2 separate regions of the Homo sapiens genome follow, and region 1 is linked to region 2. Evidence: promoter capture Hi-C in human tissues and cell types (Jung and others, 2019). All regions are on one chromosome and are shown on one strand. The core of a region is centred on a gene start or on the middle of the fragment in contact, and the rest is flanking DNA. Distances in the headings are between cores, read along the strand shown. Region 1 has its middle 5.2 kb from the start of OR5T1. Region 2 holds the start of OR8K3 (olfactory receptor family 8 subfamily K member 3 (gene/pseudogene)).

Region 1 (6,333 bases), core at 1,547-4,046, 47 kb before region 2:
TAAGTCATCTCATGTTCCAATATTGGGTGCACAGATATTTAGAATTGATATATACTCTTGTTGAATTGATCCTTTTATTTTTATATTATGACTCTTTTTGTCTGTCTTTTTACTCTTTTTTTATTATTTATTTAAAGTCAGTTTTATCTGAGATACAGTGTAGTTTTTCTGCTCACTTTCGGTTTCTATTTGCATGGAATATCCTTTTCGACTACTCCTTTACTTTTAGTCTATATGTGTTTTTATCACCAAGGATACAGTTTGATCATTCTTTAAATTCATTCCACAAATGTATATCTTTTAACAGGAACATTAATCCATTTACAGTCAAGGTTAATACTGATATGTGAGGTTTTATTCCTGTCACATTGTACATTTTTAGCTAGTTGTTTTACACATTCTTATTTTTTTTCTTTTTTTTTTTGTAGTTTAGTGTAGTTCTGTTGTATTGCTATTTAATTCCAGTCTCTTCCTTCTTTGTGTAATTGTCTTATACAATGGCTGAATTTTATAATCCCATGTGATATTTTGGTAGTGAATATCAGCCTTTTGTTTTTATGTTTAGGACTTTTTCTAGTATTTCTTATGAGGCTGATCAAGTAGTGATGCATTCCATCACCGTTTGCTTGTCTGGAAAAGACTTTATTTATCCTTCATTTATAGAGCTTATTGTAGCTGGATATAAAATTCACAGCTCTTTTTTTTTTTTTCCTCTCCTTTAGCACTTTCAAAATAGCCTCTCATTCTCTTCTGGCTTGCAAGACTATTGCTGAAAAGTTTGTTTTTTGTCTGATGGGGCTTCCTTTTCAGCAGACTAGACACTTTTCTCTTGCTGACATTGGAATTTTTTGTTCACATTGAATTTAGACAGTCTGATGACTATACAGCATGGCAAAGTCCGATTTGCAATGTATTTTTCTAATGATGACTGAGACTCTTGTATCTGAATGTATAAATCCCTTGTTAGCATTCTTCTTATCAGCACATAGAGCAATGGAACAGAATAGAGAACCAAGAAATAAGACCACATACCTACTACCATCTGAACTTTGACAAACCTGACAAAAAAAAGCAATGGGGAAAGGATTCCATATTCAATACATGGTGCTGGGAGAACTGGCTAGCCATATGCAGAAGATTGAAACTGGACTTCTTCCTTACACCATATACAAAAATCAACTCAAGATGGATTAAAGACTTAGATGTAAAACACAGAAGAAAGCCTAGCAATACCATTTTGGACATAGGCATGGGCAAAGATTTCATGATGAAGATGCCAAAAGCAATTGCAACAAATGCAAAAATTGACAAATGGGATGTAATTAAACTAAAGAGCTTCTTCACAGCAAAAGAAACTATCAACAGAGTAAACAGCAACCTACAGAATGGGAGAAAAATTTTGCAATCTATTCTCTGACAATGGTCTAATATCCAGAATGTACAAATAACTTAAGCAATTTCACAAGAAAAAAACAAACAACTCCATTAAAAAGTGGGCAAAGGGGCTAGGTGCAGTGGCTCATGCCTGTAATCCCAACAGTTTGGGAGGCTGAGGTGGGTGGATTGCCTGAGCTCAGGAGTTTGAGACCAGCCTGGCCAATATGGTGAAACCCCGTCTCTACTAAAATACAAAAAACTAGCCGGCATGGCAGCGTGCACCTGTAATCCCAGCTACTTCAGAAGCTGAGACAGGAGAATAGCTGGAACCCAGGAAGTGGAGGTTGCAATGAGCTGAGATCCCACCACTGCACTCCAGCCTGGGTGACAGAGAGAGACTCTGAAAAAAGGAAAGAAAGAAAAAGTAAGAAAGAAAGAAAGAAAGAAAGAAAGAAAGAAAGAAAGAAAGAAAGAAAGAAAGAAAGAAAGAAAGAGAAGAAAGAAAGAAAGAAAGAAAGAGAGAGAGAGAGAGAGAAAGAAGAAAGAAAGAAAGAAAGAAAGAAAGAAAGAAAGAAAGAAAGAAAGAGAGAAAGAAAGAAAGAAAGGGAGAGAGAGAGAGAGAGAGGGAGAGAGGGAGGGAGGGAGGGAGGGAGGGAAGGAGGGGAAGGAAATATGGTACACAAACGTGACAGAGCAAGACTCTGAATAAAAAGAGAGAAAGAAGAACAAAAGAAAGAAAGAAAGAAAGAAAGAAAGAAAGAAAGAAAGAAAGAAAGAAAGAAAAAGAATGAAAGAAAGAAAGAAAGAAAGAAAGAGAAGAAAGAAAGAAAGAAAGAGAGAGAGAGAGAAAGAAGAAAGAAAGAAAGAAAGAAAGAAAGAGAGAAAGAAAGAAAGGGAGAGAGAGAGAGAGAGAGGGAGAGAGGGAGGGAGGGAGGGAGGGAGGGAAGGAGGGGAAGGAAATATGGTACACAAACGTGACAGAGCAAGACTCTGAATAAAAAGAGAGAAAGAAGAACAAAAGAAAGAAAGAAAGAAAGAAAGAGAGAAAGAAAGAAAGAAAGGGAGAGAGAGAGAGAGAGAGGGAGAGAGGGAGGGAGGGAGGGAGGGAGGGAAGGAGGGGAAGGAAATATGGTACACAAACGTGACAGAGCAAGACTCTGAATAAAAAGAGAGAAAGAAGAACAAAAGAAAGAAAGAAAGAAAGAAAGAAAGAAAGAAAGAAAGAAAGAAAGAAAGAAAAAGAAAGAAAGAAAGAAAGAAAGAAAGAAAGAAAGAAAGAAAGAAAGAAAGAAAGAAAATGTGGTACATATACGCAAGAAATGTGGAATACTATGCAACCATAAAAAAGAACAAGATCATGTTCTTTGCAGGGGCATGGCTGGAGCTGAAGGCCATTGTGCTTAGCAAACTAATGCAGGAACAAAAGTCCAAATACACATGTTCTCACTTAGAAGTGGGAGCTGAACAATGAGAACACATAGACACATGGTGGGGAGAGTAACACACACTGAGGCCTGTTGGAGCATGAGGGGCAGGGTGGAAGGAGAAAGAGGTTCAGGAAGAATACCTAGTGGATGCTGTGCTTAATACCTGGGTGATGGGATGATCCGTGCAGCAAACCACCATGACACAGGTTTACCTATGTAACAAACCTGCACATCCTGAACATGTACCCCTGAACTTAAAATTAAAGTTGACAATTTAAAAAAAAGAATTAATATCTTAAAATGAATATACCACCTAAAGCAATCTATAGATTTAATGCAATTTCTATCAAAAGACCAACGTGATTTTTCATAAAATTGGAACAAATAATCCTAATATGCATATGGAACAACAAAAAAAGAGTGAATAGCCAAATCAATCCCAAGTGAAAAATAAGGCTCAAGGCTTCACATTACCAGGCCTTAAGTTACACTATAAGGCTGTAATAATCAGAACAGTATGGTAGGATATAAGGCAGACACAGATCAATGGAAAAGAATAGACAACTCATAAATAAAGCCATATATATACATCCAACAGATTTTTAACAAATTTAACAAAAACACACACTGGACAAAGAATCCTATTTGCAATAAATGGTGTAGGAAAATTGGATTACCATTTACATATACAAAAATCAACCCGAGTTGGATGGAGGACTTAAATATATGACTTGAAAATAGAAAAATACAAGAAGAAAAACTAGGAAAAAATCTTCTGGACATTGGTCTATGCAATATTTCATGACTAATACCACCAAAACACAGTCAACGTAAACAAAAATAAACTCATGAGATGTAATTAAACTATAAAGCTCCCATACAGCAAAATAAATCATCAACAGGGCACAGAGAATCCACATAATGAGAGAAAATATTTGCAAATTATGCATCTGATGGGAGACTAATATCTACAATTTAGAAAGAATTCAAGCAATTCAACGAAGAAAAATAACCTTATTTAAAAGTGACCAAAAGATATCAATAAACATTTTACAAATGAAGACATGCAATGAACATGGCCAATAAGCATATGAAAAAATGCTCAACATCACTTATTAGAGAAATGAAAATTAAAACCTTAATTAGATATCGTCTCACACCAGTTAGAATGACCAATCTTAAAATGTCAAAAAAAAAAAAAAAACAGATGTTGGCAAAGAAAAGGGGATGCTTATGCACTGCTGTTGGGAATGTAAGCTAGTACTACCTATATGGAAGACAGTATGGAGATTTCTCAAATAACTGAAAATGGAACGACTATTTGATCTAGCAATCCCACTACTGGGTATCTGCCAAAAGATAAATCAGTATCTTACTTTGGGTAGATACCCAGTAGTTGAATTGCTGGATCAAATGGTGGTTCTATGATACTTGCACTTTTATGTTTATCACCACACTATTCACAGTAAGAAAAATACAGAATCACTCTAAGTGTTCAACCATGGATGACTAGATGCAGAAAATATGTTATATATAAGCAGTTGAATACTATTCACCAACAAAAGAATGAAAGCATGTCTTTTGCAGCAACATGGATGAAACTGGAGGCCATTATCTTAAATGAAACAATTTTAAAAAAGAAAGTCAAATATGATATGTTCTCACTTATAAGCAGGAGCTAAATAATGTATACATATGACATAGAGTGTGGAATGAATTACAGTGGAAAGTTGGAAGGGTGAGAGAGTCAGAGGTATGTGGAGTATAAGAAATTACTTAATGGGTACAATGCACATTATTCAGGAGATGGATACACTAAAAGTCAAGATATTCAATATATTCAATATATCCATACAACAAAATTGCACCTCTACTCAATGCATTCAGAAAGAAAGAAAGAAAGAGAGAGAGAAAGGGAAAAAAAGAGAAAGAGAGGAAAGAAGGAAGGAAGGAAGGAAGGAAGGAAAAGGTAGAAAGAGAAAAAAGGAAGGAGAGAAAGAAGCTGATGCAAGGCAGGCATAAACTTTCACTAATAAACTCAGAATCTCCATCAACATATTTAAAAAATCAATAAACAAGCAAACATGAAATGAGTGAAAGTGAAAAATACATAAATGGATAATTTTTATTTGTTTTTTCAAAATTATATCAAAGACTACCACCACAAAACCTGAAAATAAAAAGAATATTGAGTCAAAGCACCCTGTTGCAACAGAATCTTGTTAAATCAGCAACTTTTTTTTTTTTTTTTACCAGACACAGAATTAACTGGGAAAAGGAAGGATTAACAGTACCTATAACACATGGAATTCGTGAATTTTCAAACTCCACCAGTAAAAAGAAAAGACAATTTATTGAGTGAAAATTCCAGCAAAGTCAAGCTGGAAGAGTAGATAAGCTTTTATATGTTCCAAGTTTCAGGTGAATTACCACCCCAACCCCTGTGCAGTCTCAATACAGGTGTCGCCAAAGGATCGTGAATGATTGAAACTGTGCTCAAGGTAATTAAGGATGTCACAAATGTGCAGCATATACACCCTTTCAGTAGGACAAGTAAAGACTTGTCCTTGTTTCCCTAAGGAAAACAAAACGCTGAAAAAAAAAAAAGCTAACTGAGTCAAGTAGAATCATTGGGAAGAAAAGCTTCACTAAGAAAGGAGAATTCTGGGAGATGTAGTTCTCAGAACACTTAGGGCAACATAAAATGTCTAAGGTGTGGAGAACCACTTTGAAAGGCAAGAACTGACTGTCTATAGGACTCAAGGAAGAGCAGGGAGAATTTGCTCATAAATTAGGCTTAGGTCTGAGAGCTAAAGTAGCTTTACAGTAATATTTTAAGGCCACAATGAAAGCTAGAGAGTGATTCCTTCAGCATGAACCTGGAAAAGTTACTTTGATATATCACCAACTTCCTATGTACCTTCTTCTGAGAGTCAAGATGCCCAGCACATTTAAACATGGATGGAGCAAGAAGATGGCAATTGAACTCCATATGATGAGAGTTAAAGTATACAAGGATGAAAATAACAAAATAATGTTTTAGAAGGTTGCCAGCAGCCCGTTACCATTGTCAGCAGCCTCAGCTACCTTATTCTGTCCTCTAGTCATTATCTATTCTGAAGCAATGATAAATTTATGTAATAGCTAGTTTTCTAAAGTTTTAATATAAACAGAAAAATTTACCATTTATAAGTGTCAGTTATATGAATTTTGATAAACACAAGTAGGTAAGCAAATCAAGTTATAGTATATTTTCATTACCCTATAAAGTCCTCTCATCACTTTGTAGCCAATTACTTTCCTTTACTCCCAAGTTCTGGCAACCACAGATGTGCTTTCTGTTGTGATTTTGCCTGGTCCAGGATATTATATCAATGGAATCACAATGTATGTAACTTTTTGAGTTTGGCTTTTTCAACTTAGCAAGAAGTATTTGAGATTCATTCCTGTACTAGATAATTATATTTTATACCTACTTATCACTGAGTAGTATTCCATATTATGGATGTACTACAATTGTTTTATTCAT
Region 2 (6,861 bases), core at 4,334-6,833:
GCCAAAGGCTTCACTTTCTCCTTTTGCAGAGCCTCAAGTCAGGCATGGTTTCAGCCTCTAGGTTTGACACCTGAATATCTGTATTTTATGAACCTCTACCAATTGCATATTATACACTGAACCATGAGGATAAATTTTCTTAATATATTACTTCCATACTCAACTCTCAAATCTATTTTTAATGGATTCAAATTCTTTATTGATATTCATTTTTTGTGGATTTATTTTCTCAAGTACTGTAAACATTTTTCCAATTCTTTGAAATACTAGTTATGGTTTCTTTGAAATATGAGTCGGCTAAATCCAACATCTATGTCCAGTCACAGGCGGTGCTTATAGACTACCTATCAATCATATCCAAGTATAGGTCATTATTTCCTCTTTCTGTTTTTAATGACTCAGATTTGTACTGAGAACTGGAAATTTTGTAATATATTTTAGCACCTCCAAAATTTGATTTTATTTATTTTTTTCCCTCTATGATTCTCTGTTGCTGTGTGTGTTTTTGTTTCTTTGTTATAAAATACCTTGTTTAGAATTAATATGCAGAATTTGGCCACTAATTTATCTGCTCAGCATTTCCTTTGCATTATTAACTTTTAGCTTGACTTTCTAAGAGTTACCTCTTTGTCTTCTAGGTTAGTGGTCAAAGTTGTTCTAAAAATTTTTATTTCATAAGGCTTGCACCCTCTGCTGCTGACATGTGCCTGATTTGGGGAGCACATTAAACTGTATTAGTGTTCAAGTATACCCCAGCATTTACTTTCCTCTTGAGTACTCTCAAGTCTCCATTATGTGGGTATTTAGGTTGTCAGACAGCTGGTGATGTGTAGGATATTGGAGTTTTTATCAAATCCCTCAGTTGGCATCTCCTTTCTAGGAACTTTAAATTTCAGGCTAGTCCTCCCTGCTGCTACTTACCCCAACTATAATCATAACCTGAGGTTAAAAGAGTTGCGTTCACTACTGTGCATGGATTTTCTACCATTTACTCCAAATCTAATTACCCCCTACCCCTGCCTTTAACGTGGAAGTTGCTGGTTTTTGTGGATAGGCTTGCTCTGGACAAAAAATAAACAAGGTAAAATTATCAGACATGTATCATAGTTATATAATTATATATGATATAATGCAGGTATATAATGCAGAAAGAAACACAAATGTTACAATATTGATATATCACAAATAAAAAGTGACTTAAATACAGCAATGAAATTATAACAATAACATATATGCATGGTAAATACACACACATACACAAATTGTATGTGTTCACAGGATGACATTAGTAATATAGGACACACATATTAATAAAACATCAAGTTTTTGTCAAGACAGAAAAGAAAAATTTAGTTGAGGGTTAAACAGAATAAAAAAATGAAATGCTGCAATATGTAATAAAGAAAAAAACCAAAATCTAAATAATTTGTAAACAGAGACCTGATGGTAAGTCACAATAAAATAAATATTAAGATAATTTATTAATACTAATAAATTTACTGTGTTCTAAGTACTATTTTTATTTTTTATTTTTATAGGTACATAGTAGGGGTAATTATATCCATTTTTTATTTGAAGAATAAACAAAATTAAAATTAAATAATTTTATCCCTGATGAAATAAAAAGGAACAACATAAATGAGTAAAAAAGCAACACCTCTCCTTTGTGCATTATTTTATTCCATGTAAAATTCTTAAGTAAAGTAATAGGACAACGTTGAAAACCATCTCCACTCTGTCACCTTTTTGAGGAAACCACTGTGTATATACCACCTGCCGTGTATATACAATATTTTTTCTGTGAGCCTGCACTATAGATACAATATTTTAATCAAGAGTCCTCTGTGGTACAAATGCAAATTTAAGCAAGTGTAAAAAATAGGTAACAAACAAGTAAATTTAAAAAAACACTTCTTGGCCTGCTATTAGGCCTTAGAAACTGAAGTCTTGACTATCTTGACACATCATAAACTGCACGATTTCTGACTCACTCAGCCATAAAGTTGGACATACACAGTCCATTTTCCCTTCTTCATAATTTTACAAATAGATTTGTTCTCACTGCAGCTCTTAGCAACCTTAGCATAGGATTTTTTTTTTCTTTCATCTTTACACTGAAAGAAAGGAAGCACTTTATGCCTTCTCTTTGACATATCTGAATTGCCAGCATCATAACTCTTGCAGTATGGGACATCATTAAGTAAAATAACGGTTATGTAACACAGTTACTGCAATACTGTGACAGTCATCTGATAACCAAGATGGCTACTAAGTGGAACAGACAAGGAAAATATACACTGTGGATAACTGGACAAAAAATGATTCACGCCCTAGGTAAGATAGAGTGAAAAAGTGTGAGAATTTATTGTGCTATTTTGAATGATATGTAATTTACAACTTATGAGTTGTTTTCTGGAAATTCTCTTTAACATTTTTGGAACACAGTTGAATGCAGGTAACTGAAACCACAAAAAGCAAAAAATAGGTATCCAAGTGACTGCTGTATATGGTGTTCAAGACTGAACAGGCCCTGAGGCACAAGTAAGTTACATGAAGAAATAGCCTGATGCACATGGTCCCCGCTCCTCCTACACTATCTTCTGTCTCGCAGTCTCCACCCATGGCCTCATAGAGAGTGCCTTATGGTCAGATGACAGAGGAAGAAAAGACTCCAGTCCCATTTAAAGATAGTTCTGCATCATATGCAGACACCACCCTAAAAGTGGGCAACTGTAGCACTACAAGCCTTTTCTGGGACATTCCTGATGGACAGAAGTAAAGGGAAATACTCTCACTGTGCACAACTTTGAGTGGTGCACCTGGTGATGCACTTTGCTTAGAAAGTGATCATGAGAGAACAGACATGCGATAATTATGATTACATATGGATTCAGGGGCTGTGGCAAGTGGTGTGGCTAGATAGTAAAAAACGTGGAGAGGACATGATTGAAAAATTAATGACAAAGAAATTTAGGGAAGAAGTATGACCATAACTCTCTGAATGAGCAAAAAACGTGAAGATATTTGTGTCCCATGTGAATGCTCACCAAATGGTGACCTCAGCAGAGGAGGATTGTAATATTCAAGTTAATAGTATGACACATTCTGTGGATACTAGCCAGCCTCTTTCTTCAGGCACCCTGTCATCACCCAATGGGCTCACAAAGAAAGTGGACATGGTGGCAGGGACATAGGTTATGTGTGGTCTCACAGCAACATGGACTTCCACTCATGAGGGCCAACCTGGCCATAGTCACTGCTGAGTGTCCAATCTTCCAGCAGCAGTGAACAACACAGAGCCACTAATATGGCACCATTACCCAATGGGAGTAGCCAGCTGCCTGGCAGGAGTTTGGTTACATTGCACTGTTTCCAACATTTAAGAGCAGCATTTTGTTCTTAGTGCAATATATACTTACTCTGGATACAGATTTTCCTTCTCTGCAAGCAATTCTGCCAAAACTACCTTCCAAGTTATAGAATGCCTTATGTACCATCATGATATTCCACATGGCATTACATATATCAAGAAACTCACTTCACAGATAAAGAAGTGCAGCAATGTGTCCATGATCATGGAATTCACTAGTCATACTCACCATGCTGCCCAACATCCCAAAGAAACTGGCTTTGAAATTTTAATTACAATTCAGCTAGATGGCAATAATTTGAATAGCTGGGGAAAAGTTTGCAAGAAAGCTATATATGCTTTGAATTAGTCTCCAGTATATTGTGCTGTTTTTTTGCCATAGACTGGATCTAGTAGCCTAGGAATGAAGAGATGGAAGTATGAGTGACACCACTCACTATTTTTTTTAATTTTTTAATTTTTTTATTATCCTTTAAGTTTTAGGGTACATGTGCGCAATGTGCAGGTTAGTTACATATGTATACATGTGCCATGTTGGTGTGTTGCACCCATTAACTCGTCATTTAACATTCAAGACACCACTCACTATTAACCCTAGTGACCCACTGTCAAAATTTCTGCTTCCTGCTCCATTGACTTTAAGCTTTACTGACCTACAGGTCTTAGTCACAGAGGAATGAATGCTTCCACCTAGAGAAATAGCAATAATTCTATTGAATTGGAAGTTAAGACTCTTACCCAGCCATTTTGAGCTCCTCATGCAACTGAATCAATAGACAAAACAGGAAGTTATCACACTTGATCCTGACTTTCCAGGGGAAATTGGGCTATTACTTCACAATACAAGGAAGAATAAGCCTGGAATATGGGACATTCCTTAGGACATCTTTTATTAATAAGAAAAACTGTAATAATAATATACGGAAAACTGTAATAGCCCAAACTAGCCAGAACTACTAATGGCCCACATTCTTCAGGAATAAAGGTTTGGGCCACTTCACAAGGAAAAAAGAACCATGGCCAACTAAGGTGCTTGCTAAAGACAAAAGGAATAGAGTATGGAAAGAAGAAGAAGACGGTTATAAATACCAGCTATAATCATGTGGCCAGTTCAGAAATGAGGACTGTAATTGTAATGAGAATTCCATCCTAATTTTATTATAAATATGTCTGTGTATTTATTAAGATGCTTTATTCCATTTTTTATTACCTTATTATATAAATATGATATATGGACTTTACATCAATATTTAAATATTGTTACTTTTACACTGTAGAATTTTACTCTGAGAAAATCAGGAGAAGAGTCAGTATCACTCAAAGAATATATGTCCTGATTGGAATAAAGGATTAGTGAGTTTTTATTTATATGCCGGATAGTTGTGTCATGTAAAGCAAAACTATGACCTTGTTATTGTCTATGTTTAGAGAGACTAAGTATGGTTTAAGTACATGCTTATGTTTGCCAAGCTGACAAGGGGTGGAGTAATGACGATTAAAGTGTTGACTTAACTAGGCTATATGATGCCCAGATAGCTGGCAAACATTATTTCTGGGTGTGCCTGTGAGGATACTCCTGGAAGAGACTACGATTGTTAGACAGAGTAACTATCATCCTCACCAATATAGGTGGGTATCAGTGCAATCAATTGAGGCCTTGAATAAAACAAAAAGACAGAGGAAGGGTGAGTTCACTCCCTGCTTAAGCTAGGACATCCTTCGCTTCCTGCCATCAGACATTGACATCCCAGATTCCAGAGCCTTCGAATTCAGACTATGATGTACACCCTTGGCTCCCCTGGCTCCCAATATTTCAAGTTTGAACTGAATCTATACCACCAGCTTTCTTGAAGTTTGCAGACAGCAAATCACAGGAATCCTCAGCCTACATAATTGCATAAAACAATTCATAATAAATCTCTATTATCTATCTATCTATCTATCTATCTATCTATCTATCTATCATCTATCTATCTATCTATCATCTCTCATCTAACTATCTCTTCTTAGTACTGTTTTTCTGGAGAACTCTGATACACTAGTGAATACAAACTGTCTTCTACAACTAATGGACAGCCTCAAACATTTTGTTATGCTCTCAAATGCTTTAGGAATTATCAATAAATTGCCTGCCATCTCCTCAGGGAGAGTCTCAAAAGATTAAAAAATGCATAAATTGTTCTCACTGTGCCATGTGAGAGACACATGGAGGAGTCAAGACAGAGGCTTCCTTACAGGTAAAAAAAAAAAAAGTAAGAATGTTTCTTGTGGTGTCATATGTTACAGATATCTATAATGCTTCAGTGACATTGGAAAACTGCCACTTTAATTTGATGACATAACCATAGTAAAGTGTGACAATTTCTGATTCATTTCTCCGGGATTTCTGTTACTCAATAATGCCTAAGCAGAAATAACGGTGCTCCATTTTTCATATGCTTTTTAAGTATTTTACATGGTTTCACAGGCTGAATGCTATAAGCATCTTTGAAACATTATCATGATATTGTTTCTAAAGTATTCATTTTACATATTTTTCTCTAATTGAGGCCAAAACTTGGAGAAAATAAAGCACAATGACAAGGAGATAAATATATTTTTAATGAAAGAATGGAGAAACTGCAACTATTTGGTCAGTCATGTTCATGTCCTTCCAAATACTTGTTATTTAGATGCTCTAGGCTCTCAGACCCCTTAACAATAATTTAACACTGAATGATTATTCAAATAAATGTGTAGATATGATTGTTTTCTCACTGCTTGGTGAGTCAAAAAGGGGGTTGCTACCTTACATTCGAATGTGAAAAGCATTATTAAAAATTATGAGGCTTTTTGGGTAATCATAGGCACAGAAAAAAAAAACATTTTAAAATAGAAGAAAATAAAATTAGGAGACTGTTAAGTACCCAGTTTTAGGGAACAATACAATTTTCAGAAAGTACTTCAATTTCCACTAAGAGTTGACAAAAGCAGATATTATTTTCTCAAAGATTGTAGCTTTAAAAAATGCAATTGATATTCAACAAAGACAGCAAAATATGAAAAAAAGCAATCTGGTTCTTTCCACAGAACTCCAAAGATGGTGAAAGGAACCTCATTTATATTTCCTTACCTAACAAGAAAACAGGTACTTATCCATGATATTATTTGCCTTTCTAAATTGCCAAACTGTACAAAACAAGCAAACAAAATACAGGATTTATGCTGCTCATCATCTTATTTACTAAAGATATTTATCTAACTTTTCCATCTACTGCCACACATTACCATATATCTAATATGAGAAAGGTGTGTTCATTGAGTCAGGGTAGGATAGGAGTAGGTCATAATTTTATTTAAAAAATTAAGTTCAAATAATATGTAATCATCTTTATATTTAATGTAACACAATTGCTTGTCTTTATTTTTTCATAGCTCACTCTGAGATTGCTGTCACTATAATTTTCATTGTAAAAACTATTTTCTTTCTTTTCTTTTTTCAAAAAACATTG

The links. Contacts are between HindIII fragments. The study calls those that stand out against the background at their distance.
Region 1: a fragment that was not itself captured here is called in contact with the fragment with the promoter of OR8K3 in region 2 in 3 of the 25 tissues and cell types used here (neural progenitor cells, ovary and small bowel).

Annotation. Positions count from the first base shown.
Region 1 is chr11:56,265,831-56,272,163 of GRCh38, forward strand. No RefSeq gene overlaps it. Among named protein-coding and RNA genes, the nearest start is that of OR5T1, 5.2 kb to the right of the region's middle. The HindIII fragment of the contact is 6,385 bases long and covers 1-5,989 here.
Region 2 is chr11:56,309,561-56,316,421 of GRCh38, forward strand. OR8K3 (olfactory receptor family 8 subfamily K member 3 (gene/pseudogene)) reads left to right here and starts at 5,584. Exons shown (of 3, transcript NM_001005202.2): 1 at 5,584-5,607; 2 at 6,440-6,497. The HindIII fragment of the contact is 20,178 bases long and covers 1-6,861 here.